Regions from separate parts of the Homo sapiens genome. Here all the other regions are linked to region 3. The links are contacts of gene promoters, found by promoter capture Hi-C in blood cells and fetal thymus (Javierre and others, 2016). All regions are on one chromosome and are shown on one strand. The core of a region is centred on a gene start or on the middle of the fragment in contact, and the rest is flanking DNA. Distances in the headings are between cores, read along the strand shown.

The links. The method cuts DNA at HindIII sites, captures the fragments that hold promoters and counts their contacts. A CHiCAGO score of 5 or more calls a contact.
Region 1: a contact is called between a fragment that was not itself captured here and the fragment with the promoter of TTL in region 3, in 6 of 17 cell types (erythroblasts, naive CD4 T cells, total B cells and 3 more). The highest score is 9.3, in erythroblasts.
Region 2: a contact is called between a fragment that was not itself captured here and the fragment with the promoter of TTL in region 3, in 7 of 17 cell types (endothelial precursors, erythroblasts, M1 macrophages and 4 more). The highest score is 7.8, in endothelial precursors.
Region 4: a contact is called between the fragment with the promoter of FBLN7 here and the fragment with the promoter of TTL in region 3, in 8 of 17 cell types (endothelial precursors, activated CD4 T cells, erythroblasts and 5 more). The highest score is 7.3, in endothelial precursors.
Region 5: a contact is called between a fragment that was not itself captured here and the fragment with the promoter of TTL in region 3, in 7 of 17 cell types (megakaryocytes, endothelial precursors, M0 macrophages and 4 more). The highest score is 7.3, in megakaryocytes.
Region 6: a fragment that was not itself captured here is called in contact with the fragment with the promoter of TTL in region 3 in 1 of 17 cell types (endothelial precursors); the score reaches 6.5 in endothelial precursors.

The regions. Positions count from the first base shown.
Region 1 is chr2:112,120,071-112,123,588 of GRCh38, reverse strand. No RefSeq gene overlaps it. Among named protein-coding and RNA genes, the nearest start is that of FBLN7, 17 kb to the left of the region's middle. The HindIII fragment of the contact is 9,145 bases long and covers 1-3,518 here.
Region 2 is chr2:112,083,433-112,087,094 of GRCh38, reverse strand. It overlaps TMEM87B (transmembrane protein 87B), which reads right to left. Exons shown (of 19, transcript NM_032824.3): 9 at 991-1,090. Among named protein-coding and RNA genes, the nearest start is that of TMEM87B, 30 kb to the right of the region's middle. The HindIII fragment of the contact is 2,093 bases long and covers 677-2,769 here.
Region 3 is chr2:112,480,233-112,483,669 of GRCh38, reverse strand. TTL (tubulin tyrosine ligase) reads right to left here and starts at 1,514. Exons shown (of 7, transcript NM_153712.5): 1 at 1,169-1,514. The coding sequence starts at 1,325. RefSeq lists silencers at 744-843, 1,404-1,793 and an enhancer at 2,114-2,183. The HindIII fragment of the contact is 5,056 bases long and covers 1-3,437 here.
Region 4 is chr2:112,136,806-112,140,239 of GRCh38, reverse strand. FBLN7 (fibulin 7) reads right to left here and starts at 1,855. Exons shown (of 8, transcript NM_153214.3): 1 at 1,510-1,855. The coding sequence starts at 1,584. RefSeq lists an enhancer at 1-38. The HindIII fragment of the contact is 8,502 bases long and covers 1-2,176 here.
Region 5 is chr2:112,101,367-112,104,800 of GRCh38, reverse strand. The region is part of intron 15 of TMEM87B (transmembrane protein 87B); the gene reads right to left. Among named protein-coding and RNA genes, the nearest start is that of FBLN7, 35 kb to the left of the region's middle. The HindIII fragment of the contact is 2,744 bases long and covers 686-3,429 here.
Region 6 is chr2:112,199,709-112,202,898 of GRCh38, reverse strand. It overlaps a transcript of FBLN7 not described here. Among named protein-coding and RNA genes, the nearest start is that of ZC3H8, 54 kb to the left of the region's middle. The HindIII fragment of the contact is 1,801 bases long and covers 832-2,632 here.

The DNA.
Region 1 (3,518 bases), core at 682-3,181, 360 kb after region 3:
TTATTTGGAGTTTGCTAATCTTTCTGCTTAGGTAGACTGTTTTTTGTCAAGTTTGAAAAGTTTTCAACCACTATTTATTCAAGTATTTTTCTTCCTCTCTCTTCTTCTTCTCGTACTCTCACCGTGTGTGTCTGTATGCTTGAGGTTGTTCCACAGGTCTCTGAGATTCTGTTAATTTTTCTTCATTCTATCTTCTTTTTGTTCCTCACACTGAATAATCTCAATTGACCTATATTCAGATTCACTGATTTTCTTCTACCTGCTCAGATCTGCTCTTGAGCACCCTCTAATAAATGTTTTGTCTCAGTTATTGTACTTTTCAATATAAGAATTTTCATTTGGTTCATTTTTATCATTGCTATCTCTATTGACATTATTTGGTCAAACATCATTCTCATACTTTTGCATTTATACTTTTTTAGCTCATTGAATACTTACAAAACAGCTTACAGTTTTTGTCTAGTAAGTCAAACATCTGGTCTTTCTCAGGAACATTTTGTTTTGATGCTCTTTTTTTTCTTGTGAGAGATACACTGTCATTTCTTTGCTTATGTCATAATTTTTTGGTAAATACTAGACATTTTAAATAATATAATGTGGTAACTCTGAAAACCAGTTCCTTCCCCTTCAATGGTTTGCTGTTGTTACTACTTGTTGTAGTAGTTGTTTAGTGAGTTCTCTAAACTAATTCCGTAAAGTCTGTATATTTTGTGATATGTGGTCACTGAAGTCTCTACTCAGTTATGTAATGGTTAGACAATTATTGGACAGAGACTTTCTTAACCTCTCGGAACCAGTAAATCTCCCAGTCTTTGCCGAGGTGCTTGTGTGTATGGTGGGGCACACCTTCAGCACTCATTCAGGCAGTTTACAACTAACTCTGCCTTAGCCTTCACTTCTTGTTTGTGGTCTTTGCTGAGCATGCAGAGCCCTATGCATGCATGTGACCTTTTAGATTCCTGTAAGTATGTTGAAGGTTTTTCAAAGGCCTTATGGTCATCTCATTCTTTAGACTTTCCTTTTAAGGTTTTTGGTCAGTCTGTTGTTTGCTTTGAATGTTATTTTTTGCTTTAGGCAGCTGTGACATTAAAAAACATGCCTGTGAATATTTTTAATAAGTATCCCCTGGAAAGAGGCATTTAGCACTGGGAAAGCTGTGACTCAGGTCAAATAAAGACAAGCCTTTCCAGCAGACTCCACTGAACCCCAAGAAAATCTCCACTTATCAAATGAAGAAACAGAGAACTGGAATTATGACCATGTAGAAACAAGAATTTGGAAGCTGAAAAGACAATGAAGTCATATGAAATGACGTAGCAAGTGGTCACCAAAGTATATAAAATGTATTTCAAGTTTTGATGCCCAGTCCAACCCTTCTGTGGCATCTCTTTCCCCCTGACAATAAGGACCAGAGGTGAGAAAAACAAACTAGGAGGCAGTCTTCAACCCTGGTCTGAGGGAACTGTAGCCAGTGACACTTTCCTGGTCCTCCATTTCCTCATTTGTAAGATGATCTTAGAGGCTCTTTCCAGCTTTAAAGTTTTAAAATATACCAAAATAACTGTTTTTCCAGGGCAGTGCTGTGTGAATTATTTTTAAGTTTTTTTCTTCATCCCCAAATTTGTTTAGTGGCATTTGGTAAGTAAATTTATAAAATCTGTAAAGGGAAGAATTAGAGAAAAGAAAAAAAGATTAGAACTCTTCAAGAGACATTACTTTGGCACCACCTGCTGGATAGCTTTCACATTTTTTCCTGTGCATAAACTTCCATTGCAGCTTCTTGTTTTTTCAAAATGATTTTAAGGAAATACTGTCAAAATTATTTACATCTGAAATCAGATATAAATCAGGTCAGCCTCTGACCAGATGTAAATATCAGGTCACCTCTGTTAATGTAGCTGTACATTCCCTATCACTTAAGGGGCATAAAACTTGCTCTGGGTAACTTCATCTTAATACAAGTGAATCAATCCTGGAATGTGTTTGAATTTCATATGCCATTTGTTTCAATTGAGTCTCAGTCACCCCTCAATCATTGCTGTACCTTTCACATTAACCTTAGCTGCCTCCTGAAGGCTATGCACCAGGCACTTTAGATACATTGTCTTACTTAACCTTCTCTAACAAGCAAACAGCACTTTGTTAACCGAAACTCCTCTCTCCTCAGGACTTCGAGGACAACCCTTCTAGGATGATTCCCACCAGTATTATACCAGCCTTGCCACCTGCCAGGATGGTAAACTATCAAATTATTTAACCTCTCTCTCAGTTTTCTAATCTATGAACCAAGGGAACTAATACTTCATTGGCTACTGTGAGAATACAGTGGTTACCAAAGCCTGGCACTCTGCAAGTGCTCCCAAGTCTGCCAAAATGGTCATCAGTCTTATGACAACAGCCCTTCCTTTCCCTCTGGGACTATCCATCTTGTCCCTCTCACTCCTCACATGTCAAAGGTGGGAGAATGTCCATGAAGAAAATTCTCCATGTCCCATCTACTTACAGCAAGATGGATTTTTTAAATTAATTAAGATTAAGCTGTGAACCAAGACACACTTTTCTAGATTTTCTGATACATAGTCTAAGGCACTATTATTATTATTATTATTATTATTATTATTATTATTATTGAGAGTCTCGCTCTGTCGCCCAGGCTGGAGTGCAGTGGCACAATCTCGGCTCACTGCAAGCTCCGCCTCCCAGATTCACGCCATTCTCCTGCCTTAGCCTCCCGAGTAGCTGGGACTACAGGTGCCTGCCACCATGCCCAGCTAATTTTTTTCTATCTTTAGTAGAGATGCGGTTTCACTGTGTTAGCCAGAATGGTATCGATCTCCTGACCTCGTGACCCACCCATCTCGGCCTCCCAAAGTGCTGGGATTACAGGTGTGAGCCACTGCGCCTGGCCAAGGCACTATTATTTTTACATATTTATGTTGAATATGTTTCTTAGAAAATTAGGGGTAAAAATTAGGCCCTAGGGTATGGTGGGTCCGCAAGATGGAAATAAACCCCGGGTGTCTGAGGGACATGTGGAGGAGGGTGGCCCTTCCCACCTCTATACCTACTGAAGAATTGTCACATGAGCAAGAAATAAACTTTTTGTCTTAAGTTTCTGAAAGGCTAAAATCAAGTTGTGACCACAGCCTGGCTGAGCCTCAACACTAACCATGTATGCCACCCCAGTGCTTTTCCACTCAATCCTTTCTCTACTTTTTTTTTTTTTTTTTTTTTGAGACGGAGTCTCGCTCTGTCGCCCAGGCTGGAGTGCAGTGGCCCAATCTCAGCTCACTGCAAGCTCTGCCTCCCGGGTTCACGCCATTCTCCTGCCTCAGCCTCCCGAGTAGCTGGGACTACAGGCGCCCGCCACCACGCCCGGCTAATTTTTTGTATTTTTTTTTTAGTAGAGACAGGGTTTCACCATGTTGGCCAGGATGGTCTCGATCTCCTGACCTTGTGATCCACCCACCTTGGCCTCCCAAAGTGCTGGGATTACAGGCGTGAGCCACTACGCCCGG
Region 2 (3,662 bases), core at 474-2,973, 400 kb after region 3:
TAAGATGGGGAGGGACAACGGAAGGTGCCAGGGTCAAAAGGCTGGAGGCCAAAGTATAGTCGAAAAAGACTGACACCGACATGTTAAAGAAAGTAACAGGAAACAGAGGAGGTTGACAGTTGAAAAGTGGATTGCTTAAAATTGAGATTTTGAAGAGGGTGCAGTTATATATATAATAAAGTCTAGAAAATGATACTGGGAATCAGTAGCTGAAACATGGTGATGGGCAAGAGCAGGAGAGGTGGGGAGGTGAGGTCAGGTTACTTAAAGGGTCATGCACATGGCTCCTGAGACCCCATGGCCTTCTGACAGATGAAATGCTGAGGACGACACCTGTGAAGCCAGTGCCCACAGAGCTGAGGAATGAGGGAGGGTCTGGAAGCTCACAGTGACCACAACAAGATGCAGCAGGTGACCCAGCCTGAAGAGTGAGCTTCTGGGAATCAGGGTTTTAGGAAAGAAGCAGGAAGAAAGGTCTGAAAAAACACAACAAGGATAGAAATCAAGTTCTCCCATAGTTATGCCCAGTGATTCACAGGTGAGAGGAGGAAAAGACCCGCCGGAGAAGGTCCAGAAGCAGAGTCCTTGAGGGACAGACAGGTTTCAGTCAGAAGTTTTGCTGACTTGGTGTTTAATCCACTCTCTCTTCCAACACTCAGATAGGACCATAAAAGCTTAATGATACTGTCTAAATAACAGAAAAGGGTTTGAAAATGGTTTGAATTATTTTAGATTTTCCATTATCCTTAAAGTTGATTATTTATTCATCTAACTATATAAAGTTATTGAAATAAAAATTCAGGGTCTTTATTGGAAGATAACATAAAATAGCAAGTATGTGGAAATCTTTTAAAAATGTGTTCTTGTAGATTTTTCCCAAAGGGATTTGTACTACAATACTTAGAAGTTCCATTTTCACAAAGGTCATAATGTAGACGGACTGAATCACTGGGCTGGGACCCAGCATTTTTCCCACACGCCAGTACTTACTTCACAATGCCATAGCCCAGGCTCACAATGATCACGAGAAGGCGAGCCAACGTCCTCTTAATCGCAGAAATCAACTCCGCAAATATCAATAAGCCTTGGGCTGAGGAAGAAAAAAATAAAATAATTCACTTTGTCTACACCTGGAAGCCTGCCAACCAAGATTCTCAACAACATGTCCTGTGTATAACTACATTCGAACTTCAGACCAATCAGCCACATTTGATTTAAAAGTCACTGAATCCAACTGATGCTTGAAAACTTCAGTGAAGGATTCATACTCGCCTCAAGAATTCACTCCCTATCTATCTAATCTGCTCCACTGGGCACAGCTTTCTTCTATCAGCCCGAACACTGTCTCCCTGAGCTTCCCTCTGTTCTTGCTCTTTACAGAACTCTCTCTTCTTGTCCTGTAAATATTTAAAAACCACAACATCCTCTAGAGTTCTCTTTTCTCCAGGATCTCCTCATCATGTATTCATTTAAAATGTATCTGATATGCTCCTACTGTGTGGCTATAATAGTGAAAAAGACATCTTGATCCCTGCCTTCATGGAGCTTGTACTCTGGTTAGGCTAAGTAAATAGAACTCAGTGTGGTAAGAGCAAGAGGTAACACATCATCCCTCCAGACTTGGAAGAAGGCCAGTCTAATCTACACCTGGGGGAACTAGAATTGGGTCCTGAAAAACTCAGAAAAAGTGACATCTAAATCAGGACTTGAAGGCTAAGTAGGAGTTAAGTATTTGGGGGTGGGGGATGACAAAGCAAAGAACACGGCACGTGCAAAGGCACAGAGAAGAAAAGAGGAAAAGCAAACTATGCTGCAAGAAGTCAAAGTTCATTATGCCTGCAGCAGAGAGTGTAATGGTAGATGTCAAGAAAAGAGGCTGGTCATAAAGGCAGGGACCAATCATGCAGTTTGGAGCCCCTGTCATGGAGTCTGGACTCGATGTTAAGGGCAGTGGGAAGTCAATAACAATAAACAAAAGAACAAAGGAGGGATTGGTAAACTATGGCCCATGGGCCAAATCTGGCCCTACATCTGATCTGTTTTTGAACATAAAGTTTTATGGGAACACAGCAATGCTCATTTGTTTGCATGTTGTCTATGGCTGCTTTTATGCTTTGATGGCAAGGGTGAATAGTTACAACAGAGACCATATGGCCTGCAAAGCCAAAATATTTCCTCTATGGCCTTGACAGAAAAAATGTGCTGACTGCTGGAATAAAATGGATGGCTTTATTTTATCAAGATTGCTCTACCTACAATGGTTTGGAGAGGAACAAAACTGCAGGCAAGGAAAATGCTCAGGAGACTATTCCAGAAAACTAAGAGATGATGAGAGTACCGGCAGTGATCACAGAGAGAAGCAGAAAGATTCAGAAAGATATTCAGAAAATATGGTGGCAAAACCAGTTGTGAATCCATCTGATGTTTTCAGTTCACACTGTTTTCAGCTCCATCTTGCCTGCAAGAACTCACAAGAGACCTTGTCAAATGCCTCGAAGATAGATCTAGAACTACAGGCAGAGCAAGAAGCCAAGAAAGATGTGAAAGATGGTCCTGAGGTCTCCTGGCAGTATCATGCAGCGAGAGGAACACCTGGAAGGGCAGCAAGTGTGGGCTGGGGCGAGACCGCCACACAAAGGCAGAAAGGATGAGCTCCCTTTTTGCCATTCAGAGGTTGAGAAGATTGCAAGGCATTGAGAAGCTGTTTTGTAGGTGACTGGATATATATGTCTGTAGCTCAGGATAGAGAGTTCCACAGGAGAGAAAGCTTTAGGAGGAAAACAATGGATGAGCTCTCCGAAAGAGTGCAGAATGTAAAGAAGGGGTTTATCATCACAAATGTTGAGGGATGAGTGTGCTGTCAATCCCTCCATGGGCTGTCTATACTCCTCTTGAGGTAATGTGACTACAACGTTTCTGGTACAGTGTGGCCTGTACAGCAAGATTCTCAACTTTCCTTCCAGGCTCCTGCTGCAATCTGAGGTTGTGGGAGCTTGTGGGAGGCAACTACCCTATTATTGCCTATGTTGAGTTTGCTTTTCATCAGCTTCAATTTTTAAATTCTTTTTAAAACTTTTCCATTGGTATTTTTGCAATTTGTACTCCAAACCTAAGTTCAAGATCATCAGATTTCACCTTTCTATTCAGCATGTCAACTCTCTTGCCTCTCATCACATATCTTCAAGTGAAAAGGGTCTATCTAAAATGATTCTCTATGCCCCTAAGTATTTACGACCCTGGCCAGCCTCACATCATCCACAAAATTTAAGAGAATGCTGTCTACATAGTCACACAATAAATGTTAGTTGAACAAACCAACAGATTCACAAGAAGAATAAAACAGCAACAAGGCCTAAAATCTGAGAGAGACACCATTCAAAGCCTCCTAGCTCAATGGTTCTCAACCCTAGATGCATATTGGAATCACCTGGAAGCCTCTACACAGCCCCACTTCCTAGGTCTGCCCTAATCAGACTCTCTGGCACTGGTACCATTTTAAAGTTCTTCAAGTGATGCTGATGCAAAACCAGGGATGAGAACCATTGCTCCAGACCAGTGCTGTCCCACAGACCCTTTTGCAATGATGGAAGTGGTCTACCTCTGTGCTGTCCAATACAGCAGTCACTGGTCACCTGTGGCTACTGAGCACTTGAGATGAAGCT
Region 3 (3,437 bases), core at 265-2,764:
TGTCTATGGAAGCTCATAAATGACCAGTCAATTCCAAATGGCCCGTATTCAGTTTTTACCCATTTGAATTCTGACCACACCTATTTCTAAAAACTGTTTTCTCTCCTGGACATAGAACATTGCTCTCTCTGGGTTGCCCTCCAAGGTAGAGGTGACTCTTCCTCCGTATCGATTCTCCCCTTGTCTTTGGAATACAATTGGCCCCCACCTCTGGTGAATTCTGGCAAGGAACATGGCTCCCCGGAGAGAAGATGCAATTCCCAGATGACTGTGCAGAGAGGGAGGCCATGAGACTATGCTCAGGTCAATAGGATGTGAGTTGAACCGATCTGGGCAACTTCTGGATGACATCACTTACAAAGGAGCCGCTAGTCCCCTCCTATCTCCTGCGCTTTCCTACCCGTGGACATGTGGGTATGGTGGTGCCCAGCCAGCTTCAACCATGTGGATGAAGGTAATTCCCTCGGGGAGAGCAGGGAAGACAGGGAGGGCGAACGCAGCCTCGTGTAAGATCTTAATCCAATGCAGAACTGCGAAAACACATTATTTGGTGAAACTAAGGAAAGGTTTATAATCAGACATCCCTCCACACTTCCCTGGGCTAGGGTCTCTTCTGCAGCTCCTGCTTTTGGAATCCGGGGGTCTTTTCCAAATCCTCTGATCGCTCCTCCGCGCCTTCGGGGGGCAGAAGCCTCAGGGGTTTCAACACCTACGGCTCCCCCGCCCGCGCCCACGCCAAGCAGGGAGAAATCCTCAGTGCAGACGAGCTGCAAAAGATGACTCCAGCCGCCCGCTCTGCGGAGCCGCGCCCAGCGCGGCGGACCCGCCAAATCTGGGGGCTTCGGCCCGGGGGAGCCGCTAGACTCGCGCCTCAGGTCCCAGCCCCGGCGGCCAGCGTCTCCCGGGCTGCAGGGACCGGTCACCGTCGGGAGGTAGCTGCGGCCCCGAGTGGCCGCACCGCGACTCCGACTCTAAATCCAAGTTAGGAGACAAGAAAGCATTAAAAACGACAGGTTTCGATCTTTCCGAATCCGTTTCTGATGTGCCCGACAAGCGACAGAGGAGAAAATGTATGACCTTTAAAAACAAAAGCGCCGGTTCTAACGGGCCGCGGGAGGCGCGCAGGGCCGCTCCGAGGAGGGCAGACGGGAATCGGGGAGGGGCTCACCCAGTCTCCCGAAGGGCAGCCGATTCCTCTCTCCCAGCATCAGGTTGAATCTGGGGTTGTCTCGCCGCAGCCTCTTCCAGTGGCCGGTGGCGAGGAGCAGCCGGGAGACCTCGGCGTAGACGCTGCTGTTCTCATCGCGTACCACGAAGGTGTACATGGCGAAGCGCCGCGCGCCCGGGCCGCCGGGCAGCCGCCGCAGGGACCAGGCGGCCGAGAAGGCGGCTCAGCGCGGACCCCGCCCGGGCGCCCGCCGCGGCCCGGCCCCCGCCGCCCGCGCCGGCTACCGCGCCTCTCGGGTGCCGGCGGCGCCGCGCCCGGGCGCCCGCCGGGTGCCGGAGAGGAAAGCGCCGCTCGCACGCCCGCCCCCGCCGGCGCGGCCCCGCCTCTGTCCCGTGATTCCGCGCGGCCCGGCCCCGCCGCGCTCTGGAGGAGCCCGTGGGCGGCGGCGCCGCGCCCTTTCCGTACCCTCCCCCGGGGGCGGCGGCGGCGCAGGGTTGGAGACCCGCGGCGGTGGGCGCGGCTTTACCGCAGCGGGCGGACTGTGCGGTGGAACCGGAGCCCGGGCCTGGGGTGGTTCTTTCCGAGCCCCGGGTCGCAGCCGGGGGGCGGTGCCGGCGGAAGATCCCAGTTTGCAGGGCTCGATCTGGGTTTTTCTTCTATTGCCAAAGGACCTTTAATGGATAAAACCCAAAAGTTCTAAGGCCCGGTCCTGTGGCCTAATGAAGAAGCGCTTCCTCTTCCTCTTTGCTTAACGACTACGGAGACCCGGAGCGTCGGTTTTGTTTGTGTCGAGTGCTCCTTCCTTCGGCTGAGCCCAGGGTGGCGCACGGCCAAGGGGATGACCTTAGACTCTGCTGGTGGAAGCAGGTCCCAAACCGACCCCCTGGAGCCCTGGGCTCCGCTCTTTTCCTGCCTTTTACCGGCATTCAGCCACTTGCTTTCCCTTCTCCGGACCTCGATTTCCCCTTATGAGCGGCGGAGAGTGGCTCTTAAAAGTCCCTTCGGTTCTGATAGCCCACTCTGAAGACTGTGCTGCTGCATTTGAGATACAAAGAGAAGGCAATGATCATCAGAGCTCCCCCAAACTTCCTACAGTCCCTCATAAATTACCCACATCAGCCCTGCGCCTTGCATCTTTTACTCTCCTGTAGATAAAGAACACCCTGGGGCCTCTCCCCTTCCTGTCCCCCGATGCTCACGGTATCTACCCGAGCACATTGTAAAAGCGCCCTTCTCCTTCCCATCGTTGCCCAGATTCCACGGGGCCGCCAGGCGCTCACTCGCCTGTCTTGCGCACCGGCTCCACCTGCAGGCAACCGCTGGCTGTGGAGAGCCCGCTCAGAGCAGAAATGGGGCAGACTTAGAGGTGCTGGGTGCTTGCACTCCTTCCCAGCTGCTCTCCCTCCACGAGGGATAGAGTTGGTCGAGAATGCCCTGGCCCTCTCGCCCTCCGCACGTGCCCTGCGGGGAGGCGTGTGTCCTAGGCGTATTGCGGTGGTCCTCTGTAGGCCACGGCTGCGGTTGTCCACAGCTGCAACTTGCTCATCAGGGCATCTTCTGTTGGCTTCCTTCCTTTCCCTGACTACCGATGTTTCCTGGGATCACCTCCCAAAAAAACTACTGTACTCGTGCTCAAATTCTTGTTCCAGGGGGCACCGTTTGGGGGAACTCGAGCCAAGACGCTGTGTTTGCCGCTCTTCACGGCTGATCACCTTGAAAGTGACGTCCACTCCCACCATGCTGCATCAATTCCTCCTGCGACTCCTACTGACGACTCCTGTGCCACAGGTGGCTTCTCTCTGCCACTCCACAACCGTGGATCTCATTAGGAACACCAGTGACCTTTGAATTTCCAAATCCAGAAGCTACCTTTTTCCTTTTTCTCACTTTTTGTAGCGAGCACCATTTTTGTTTCTTTTAGCTGTAGGTTCTGTACGGTACTACTTATTCCCCACCCCACTTTTTTTTGAGACAGGGTCTCACCATATTGCCCAGGCTGGTCTCGAACTCCTCAACTCAAGCCATCCTCCCACCTCAGCCTCCCAAACTGTTGGGATTACAGGCGTGAGCCACCACACCCAGCTTATTCCCTTTTCTTTGTAAGGTAACTCATCTTTCCTCCTTGGAACGTGTGTGTGTGTGTGTGTGTGTGTGTGTGTGTGTGTCTGTTAGGGAGTCTTGCACTGTCGCCCAGGCTGGAGTGCAATGGCGTGATCTCAGCTCACGGCAACTTCCACCTCCGGGTTTCAAGAGATTCTCCTGCCTCACC
Region 4 (3,434 bases), core at 606-3,105, 340 kb after region 3:
GGCGCGCGGGACAGGGGAGAGAGGCGGGAGGGACACTGGCCTGGAGAGAGGCGGGAGGGACGCTGGCCTGGAGAGAGGCGGGAGGGACACTGGCGTGGAGAGAGGCGGGAGGGACACTGGCGTGGAGAGAGGCGGGAGGGACGCTGGCGTGGAGAGAGGCGGGAGGGACGCTGGCGTGGAGAGAGGCGGGAGGGACGCTGGCCTGGAGAGAGGCGGGAGGGACGCTGACCTGGAGAGAGGCGGGAGGGACGCTGGCCTGGAGAGAGGCGGGAGGGACACTGGCGTGGAGAGAGGCGGGAGGGACACTGGCATGGAGAGAGGCGCGCGGGACAGGGGAGAGAGGCGGGAGGGACACTGGCCTGGAGAGAGGCGGGAGGGACACTGGCGTGGAGAGAGGCGGGAGGGACACTGGCCTGGAGAGAGGCGGGAGGGACACTGGCCTGGAGAGAGGCGGGAGGGACACTGGCGTGGAGAGAGGCGGGAGGGACACTGACCTGGAGAGAGGCGGGAGGGACACTGGCGTGGAGAGAGGCGGGAGGGACGCTGGCCTGGAGAGAGGCGGGAGGGACGCTGACCTGGAGAGAGGCGGGAGGGACGCTGGCCTGGAGAGAGGCGGGAGGGACACTAGCCTGGAGAGAGGCGGGAGGGACACTGGCGTGGAGAGAGGCGGGAGGGACGCTGGCCTGGAGAGAGGCGGGAGGGACGCTGACCTGGAGAGAGGCGGGAGGGACGCTGGCCTGGAGAGAGGCGGGAGGGACACTAGCCTGGAGAGAGGCGGGAGGGACACTGACCTGGAGAGAGGCGTGAGGGACACTGGCCTGGAGAGAGGCGGGAGGGACACTGGCCTGGAGAGAGGCGGGAGGGACACTGACCTGGAGAGAGGCGGGAGGGACACTGGCGTGGAGAGAGGCGGGAGGGACGCTGGCCTGGAGAGAGGCGGGAGGGACGCTGACCTGGAGAGAGGCGGGAGGGACGCTGGCCTGGAGAGAGGCGGGAGGGACACTGACCTGGAGAGAGGCGTGAAGGACACTGGCCTGGAGAGAGGCGGGAGGGACACTGGCCTGGAGAGAGGCGGGAGGGACACTGGCGTGGAGAGAGGCGGGAGGGACACTGGCTGGCCTGGAGAGAGGCGGGAGGGACACTGGCCTGGAGAGAGGCGGGAGGGACGCTGACCTGGAGAGAGGCGGGAGGGACGCTGGCCTGGAGAGAGGCGGGAGGGACGCTGACCTGGAGAGAGGCGGGAGGGACGCTGGCCTGGAGAGAGGCGGGAGGGACGCTGGCCTGGAGAGAGGCGGGAGGGACACTGGCGTGGAGAGAGGCGCGCGGGACAGGGGACAGAGGCGGGAGGGACACTGACCTGGAGAGAGGCGGGAGGGACAGGGGAGAGAGGCGGGAGGGACAGGGGAGAGAGGCGGGAGGGACGCTGGCCTGGAGAGAGGCGGGAGGGACACTGGCCTGGAGAGAGGCGGGAGGGACACTGGCCTGGAGAGAGGCGGGAGGGACACTGACCTGGGAAGCCCGCGGCTCGGGGCAGGCGAGGATCAGGAGCAGAAGGAAGAGCGCGCGCGGAGAGCTGGGCACCATCTTGCCAGTCGGAATCCCGCTGCCTGGGAGGGGAAATAACTTTGCCTCCGCTGCCGAGTTTGTCCCAGCGATGCGGCAGCCGTCCCTGCAGGGTGCGGGGCGCCGCGCGGCCGGGGGGCGGCTGGGGCAGGGGGGGAGGCGGGAGGCCCCGAGCGCAGCGCGTCCCGCGGGGATCGGCGCCGCCCGGGCCTTGCGAGGGTCCAGGTGCGCCCGCAGCTGCCCGCACGAGACAGTCCGCGCGAGGCGGGGAGGCGCCGGCCCCTGGGCTAAGGACGAGGGAGGAGGGGCTGCCCGGCCGGGAATGCGCCCGGGAGCGCGCCCAACCCGCGACGCCGAGGACGAGCGCGGGCATCCTCGGGGCCTGGCAGGGATGGGCGGCCAGTGCCCCGCATATGTGCGGGTGACTGGAAGCCCACCCTGGGCGGGTTCACTCCCGACCGTCCTATTTCCCAACCAAGTAGACTGAGGCTCAGTCACCAAGGACAAGTGGCAGAACAGAAACCCAAACCCAGGTCTGTCCTACTTCAAAGCCCACGCGACACCCTCCTCCCGACATTCCTAGAAGGGGGCCAGGAAATGGGCTTCATAAGCTTGACGTGGGGTGGACTGAGCTCTCCATCCGAATAAACTAGTGTCCCTTTAAATAATGCAATGGGGCCGTGAGAACACGCACGCACAGTGAGTAGATACACACACAGTGATACAGTGAGGGGATCTACGTCCTTCTGATTCACTGTCCTCCTTGCTCAAGGGAAGGAGAAACTCAGTTTAAATCGGAGGTCAGGTTCTAGAACATTGCCTGCCTTGCTGAAGTCGAATCAGGAAGTGCCAGGCCGGCATGAGCAGTCTGAAGTCCCCTGCCATCAGGGCTGTGGTACAACCAGATGCCTCAGACCTGAGCTCCCGGAAGGCATGACTGACGTTCTTCCTGGAAGGTTTTCTGAAGGCAGTCACTGCAGATGTCCTGGGACACACAAGTCTGGTCAAGCCCCAGATCTCTTTTTCCTCTTCCACATTTCACTTTGTTGAGCCCACTCAGAGCTCAGGGAACGGGGAGCCCACAAGACTGTGACCACAGAGCAGGAGCTGTTTCCCAGCAGAGGCCAGAAAGGAAAGCTGGAGTCCTGGCTTAGTCCCTTCAAACTGCTATAGCAAAATACCATAAACTGAGTGGCTTATAAACAATAGAACGTGTTTCTCACAGTTCTGGAGACTGGGAGGTCCAAGATCAAGGTGTCAATAGATTAGGTGTTTGGCGAGGGCCAGAGTTCTGGTTCCCGTGTCCTCACAGGGGAAAGGCAGCTCTCTGGGGCCTCTTTTCTGAGGGCACTAATCCCAATTTTGAGGGCTCTGCACTCATGACCTAGTCACCTCCCAAAGGTCCCACCTCCTAATGCCATCATCTTGGGAATGAGGTTTCCAACATATAAATTTAGGGGAGACACCAACATTCAGAACCTAGCCAGTGCCCCAAAAAGCAGGGGACATGGTTTAGGCTGGCCTCCTGGGCATTGGTTGCCCAGGAAATCCTACAGTGCTGCTCCCCCAACCTTCCCATGCAAAGGAGGTGGAACGGGACCCATGTAAATCTTTTTTTTCTTTGAGACGGCGTCTTGCTCTGTTGCCTAGGCTGGAGTGCAGTGGCCTGATCTCAGCTCACTGCAGCCTTGCCTCCCTGGTTCAAGTAATTCTCCTGCCTCAGCCTCCCAAGCAGCTGGGGCTACAGGCATGCACCACCACGCCTAGCTAATTTTTGTATTTTTAGTAGAGACAGGTTTTCACCATGTTGGCCAGGCTTGTCTTGAACTCCTGACCTCAAATGACCCACCCGCCTCAGCCTCCCAAAGTGC
Region 5 (3,434 bases), core at 808-3,307, 380 kb after region 3:
CCAGTTTTGGACTATTAAGAATAAAGCTGCTGTAAACATTCTTGTGTTTCTGTAGACATCTGCTTCATTTTTCTGGGTAAACCTTAGAGTGGAACAGTTGAACTGTATGGTAGGTATATGCTTAACTTTGTAAGAAGCTGTCACATTGCTTTCTAAAGCGGTCATGCTATTCTACATTCCTTCAAGTACTGTATGAGAGAGCCAGCTGTTCCACATCCTCTCCAATAGTTCATGCTATCTATCAGACTTTTTAATTTTAACCATTCTAGCAGATGTGTGGTGGCAGCTCATTATGGTCTTAATTTGCATTTCCCTGATGACTGATTATATTGAGCACCTTTTAACGGGTTTATTGGCCATTCCTATGTCTTCTTTGAAGTGTCTACACTAGTCTTCTGCTCATTTTTTGCAACATAGGTTATCATTTATTGATTTACAGGAATTCTACTTATATTCTGGATATAAGCCCTTTGTCAGATATATATGTACTGAGAATATTTTATCTCCCACTGTAGCTAGCCTTCTTATTTTCTTAAATTCTTCCTGATGAGCATAGATTTTAAATTTTGATAAAGTCTCATTTTTTAATTTAATGGTTACTGTTTTTCATGTCCTAAGAAATTACCCCATCCAACGTCATTAAAATATTTTCCTTTTTTCTTCTAGAAGAATAACAGTTGAAGCTTTTCCATTAGGTCTGTGATCCATCTTGAATTGATTGTGAGATGTGCAACAAAAGTCTAATGATTTTTTTTCCTACACATTTATCCAGTTGTTCCAGTACCATTTATTAAAAAGACTATCCTCTCTTCATGTAAGCCTTGGTGCCTTTGTCAAAAATCAACTGACCACACATGCATGGGTTTATTCCTGGACTCTATTTTACTACCTTGATGGATTTCTCTATCCTTATGCCAATACCACACTGTCTGGATTGCTGTAATCTGAAATAATTATGTCTTGAAATCAGTATAAATCCACTAATTTTATTTTATTGAGAGATAATTCGCATACCATATTGAAGTACAGTTAGATTTTGAGATATTCACAGAGATTTGAGATATTCACCACTCTCCAATTTTGGAAAATTTTCATCACCCCACAAAGAAACCCCAAACCCATTAGCAGTCAGTCCTTACTTTCCCCCTCCTCTAACCTGTGACAAGCACTGATCTACTTTCCGCCTCTACGGACTTGTCTGTTCTGGACCTTTCATATAAACAAAATTATACAGTATGTGGTCTTTTGTGATTGGCTTCTTTCACTTAACATAATGTTTTCAAGGTTCATCCATGTTGTAACTACAAGAATGTTAAGGATCTTCTACGTCTTTTGCTTTTCCATATACATTTTAGAATCAACTTAACCACTGTATTTTTTTTTAAGTCAGCTAGAATTATAATTGGGATTGCACTGAATCTATTTATCAGACTGGGAAACTGAGAGCTTAATACTGAGAGTTCCAATTCAGACACAGGTTCTATCTCTACATTTACTTATTCTAAAATTTATCTCTGCATTGTTTTATAGTCTTCATTGCAGAGGTTTTACGTATTTTTCATTAAACTTATTCCAAGTATTTTATTTTTGAAGGTATGGTAAATAACATTTTAAACTTCACCTTCAATTGTTTTCAGTTAATATGTAGAAAAACAACTGACTTCTGTACATTGGACATATACCCTATGACTGTCACAGTCACTTAGTTCTACCGTACTTTTTCTTTTCTTTAGACTCCTTGGGATTTTTCCATACATAACCATGTTGCCTGCGAATAAACACAGTTTTACTTCCTCCTTTCCACATGTTCTTTCTTTCACATTCTTTGGAGTTTTGTTTTGCTTCTCTGCACTAGGTAGGACCTCCCATACAATGCAGAATCAAAGTGGTATGTACATACCCTTGCACTTTATCCCTAATCTTGAGAAGAAAGTGTTCACTATTTCACCATTAAATAGAATTTTAACTGTGGAGTGTTTTCATACCATTTTAGAATTAGTTTGCTGAGGCTTTTGTTATTTGTACCCACTGAGATACTTTTGTCATTTTTTTCTTCTTTCTTCTTTTATTTGTACTATTTTATTTTTATTTTTATTTATTTATTTATGTTTTTGAGACAGAGTCTTGTTCTGTTGTCCAGGCTGGCGTGCAGTGGCTTGGCTCACTGCAAACTCTGCCTCCTGGGTTCATGCAATTCTCCCGTCTCTGCCTCCTAAGTAGCTGGGATTACAGGCACACACCACCACGCCCGGCTAATTTTTGTATTTTTAGTCAAGAGGGGGTTTTGCCATGTTGGCCAGGCTGGTCTCGAACTCCTGACCTCAGGTGATCTGCCTGCCTCAGTCTCCCAAACTGCTGGGATTACAGGCATGAGCCACCGCACCCAGCCTTATTTGTACTATTTTAATATGATGAATTATACTGAGTGATTTTCGGAATGTTAAAACAGCCTTGCAACCCTGGGATAAAGTCCACTTGATCATGATTGTCTTTCTATATTTTGCTAGATTTTATTTGCTAATATTTTTAAAGAATTTTTGTATGCCCACTCATTAATGATATATTGGTCTATAAGTGGTCTATAATTTTTGGTCTATAATTTTTTCTTGTAACGTCTGTTAGACTTTGGCATTTCAATTGTACTGGCCTTTTAAGTACTCCCACCTCCTTTACCTTCTAAAGATTTTGTGTAAAATTAGAATATTTCTTCCATTTCTTCCTTAAGTATTTGAAAGGACTCACTAGTGAATCATTTGGGCCTGGTACTTCATAGGAAGATTTTAAATTAAAAAAATTTTTTTTAAATTTCTAATAGATCAGAGCTATTCAGACTTAGTGGCACAGGGTTAGAATTAAAATTGGGTTGTTATATGTATTTTTCAATGAACTTGTATTTTTCAATGAACTTGTCTGCCTCATCCAGATTGCCCAATTTGTTACCATAAAATTGTTCATAATATTTCCTTATTTACCTTTTTTACCATAGTAATGTCCTCTCTATCATTTCCAACATTAGAAGTTTGTCTTACTGTACTACAGTTGACTTTTGAATAATATGGGTTTGAACTGCTCAGGTCCACCTACATGCAAGTTTTTTTCAATAAAAGTTACACCACATATGTCTGCCTTTGCTGCCTCCCCTTTCCTTCTACCTAATAACATTTTCTTTGCTCCACCTACTTTATTGTAAGAATACAGTATAAAATACATATAATACACAAAATATGTGATAACTATGTTAACAGTAAGGCTTCTGGTCAACAGTTGACTATCAGTAGTTAAGTTCTGGGAGAGTCAAAAGTTATAAGTAGATTTTCAACTGCTCAGGAGTTTGGTGCCCCTAACCCTACATTGTTCAAGGGTCCACTGTAGTTTTTTCTTTATTTCTGGTTTAGAGTAGCTAGAGGTTAAGCCACTTTTCACTAAGCTTTTCA
Region 6 (3,190 bases), core at 483-2,982, 280 kb after region 3:
GGTAGCTTTTCAGTAAGCTGTGAGATCAAATAGTGAATTTTAGTGGGGGGTGGAGTTTTTGAGAAGCTCCCAACTTGTTCTACTCACTCCAGTGACTAGTAGGTACTAGTTTTCATAGCTGTTAAGGTTGCAGGGCTTTCAGTCTTCAAGGCTCATACTGTGGAGCTGGGGAGAGGAGAATGACATTAGAGAAGTTAAAATGCCACAGGCATTTCACCAAGATTCAGCTGTTTTGCTTGAATAAATTCTCTTCAAATTGTTGCTAGCCTTCAGTTAATTTCCAGATTCTGAAAAAGTTGATTTTTGACTGTTTTGGCAGTGTTTTTATGTCTTTCATAGAGGAGTGGATTTTTGAAGATTTTTACTCTGCTGTTCCAGAGGTAGAAACCTTAACTCACTTTTAAGTGTGGTTTGACATCACAATACCTTTTAAAAAAACCCTGCACTTAAAAATATATATATTTCTAAATATATTTCATATCTATATATGTAATATATAAATAGAAGTGTATATATAAATAGAACTATATACGTATTTATGACTGGTATGAAAATTGAACATGTCGTCTTCTAGTACTTTTATTTCAAAATCACCTTTCCTTGCCTGGCATGTCCAGAGACTCATCTTCCTGGGGAACGCAATTGCACTCAGAGGAATGAGACAGTAAACAATTAACAGATAAAGTGCACATGACTGTTAGCAGGAAGCTCCTAGTTCATAAGAATTTGGGACCTTTACTCCATGCTCCAAATTTTTAAACTACCTTTTTAAGAGATTCCACAGAAGTAGTCTTATTTACCATTCCCATAAGTCTTAAATATATACAAGCTTTGTATCCCAGCTGTATCCTACATAAAAATACTCCAAATTTATTTGCCTGGATGTGTTGCTTGGCAGGTATATTTGTTACATAATAATATAAACTAGACTTTAATCTTGGACTTCCTGAATGAATTTGTGATTCAGCCTCATATCTGCTGACACACCAGCTCTTTTCAGCCTTCCATATGCCCACAGACTGTAAGCCAATTTAAACTTCCTCATGTAGCTGAACTCAGTTAGGTAAACCTGGAATCAACAGAAATGCTCCTTATTTCAGCCAAATGCACATAAAACAGTCATTTCAGTCCATGAAGGAGGAAAGCCTGGTTGCTGTGAATTCCTTATTATCTCAGAGACTGAATGCCTGTCCTTGTGTAGCTGTGAAGGATTCTATGTTCTCCCTAAGTTGGGGAGATGATGTGAGTGGCCCCTCAGGAAACAGAAACCTGCCCAACCTCCCCTGGCTCCTGCCACTCTGGACTGCCTGCAGTTCTGGAGGGCTGTGTTCTTTGGGATGTGTCCTACACCTACATCTGAACCAGGGGAGGAAAAAAAAAGAAGGGAAAAATGCCCTTGACTTTTCAAATAAGATGTGCAGGCCTTCTGCCAAGGAGCTGGAACGGCAAGGCAGGGAACAGGGTACCCTGGAACAAATGCGAGACCTGAGAGATCTTCACCTGGGAAGACACTGCTGGGGCCCACGGCCTTTGTTCTGTTAAATCTTGGCAAGGACCTGTGACAAGGCTGTGGTGTGGGAGCTGCACGATGGTCCGTGAAACAGGCCTTCCGGGCCCACCCATGAATGAGCAAGTGTCTGTTGTTCAGAACTCTCCAGGTCAAATCACAGGATTTGTAAAGAGATTCAGGACAGCAGTCACTGGGCCCTGCCTCCTGCCTCAGAGGCCTCACTCACATTTCCTCTGTTGTCAGAGGCAGCCTTAGTGAACCAGGCAAGGGTACATCTCGCTTTCCACCCTCCTTTGATCTCAGCAACCCTCACACTCCTTGTCTCAAATTGTCCTCCCTGACATTCTGGAAGCTGTGGAAGGGCATTTAGTGTACCTGCCCCATCCAAAGCTGTATTCTCTGCAAGGATCAAGCACATAAAAGGCACTTGCTCAATATTCATCATTGACATTTAAACATTTAAATGGGTGCTGCTTTTTTCCATCCAACAATATGAAAAATGGTGACCTTTAAGTGAAAGAGAATAAATAGGATTTTAAAAAACATTTAGGCTGGGTGTGGTGGCTCACACCTGTAACGCCTGTAATCCCAGTACTTTGGGAGGCTGAAGCAGGTGGATCACCTGAGCTCAGGAGTTCGAGACCAGCCTGGCCAACATGACGAAACCCCACCTCTACTAAAAATGCAAAAATTAGCCGGGTGGTGGTGCACCTGTAATCCCAGCCACTTGTGAGGCTGAGGCAGGAGAATAGCTTGAATCTGGGAGGCAGAGGTGGCAGTGAGCCGAGATTGTGCGACTGCACTCCAGACTGGGGGACAGAGCGAGACTATGTCTAAAAACAAAATAAAACAAAAAACAAACAAAAAAAACCATTTACGCCTTATCCATGAAACAACATAGATGGAGGTGATGTGTCCTTCTGCTCAGGTAATTCGAGAATTCCCCAGACAAAGGCAGAAATGAAGGAGAATGGCCAAGTATGTAGCTAGTGATTCCCTATGCATAAGCCAGCTGCATACATGCCACCCCTTATGTGACATTCCCACGAACATCTGAGGTGTCCCCCATGGCTCTGCACAGTTCCTCCTGGGCAAGCCATACTCCTTTGTTATTTCCAAGCTTGAGAATCTTAATTAGTACTAGCCACCAATTACCTAATACACACTTCACAGCTGATCACCACACTCCAGTGGATCAGGGATTGCAGTTGAGAGCACTGGTTGCTTGAGTTGGGAGTTGATGTCTCTCAGTCAAAGACCACCAGGAACCCACATATAGTCAACAAAGTCAGGTTTACTATTTGCTGCAGCAAAAGAGGTTGCATATGGGGGGTGTCTTTGTCTGTTTTCTGTTGCTATAACAGAATACCACAGACTGGGTAACTTATAAAGAAAATGTTTAGCTCATGGTTCTGGAGGCTGGGAAGTTCAAGAGCATGGAACTGGCATCTTGTGAGGCCTTCTTGCTGCATCATACCACGGTGAAGGGCATTACATGGTGAGAGGGCAACAGCAGGAGAGCCAGAGAGAGCTCGCTTCTATAATAAAGCCCTTCCCTCAATAACGAACCCACTCCTGTGATAGTGACATTAATCCATTTATGACCACACAGGCCTCATTAACCCATTAATCCATTCATGAGGGCAGAGCTAACACTAATTCATTCATGAGGGCAGAGGG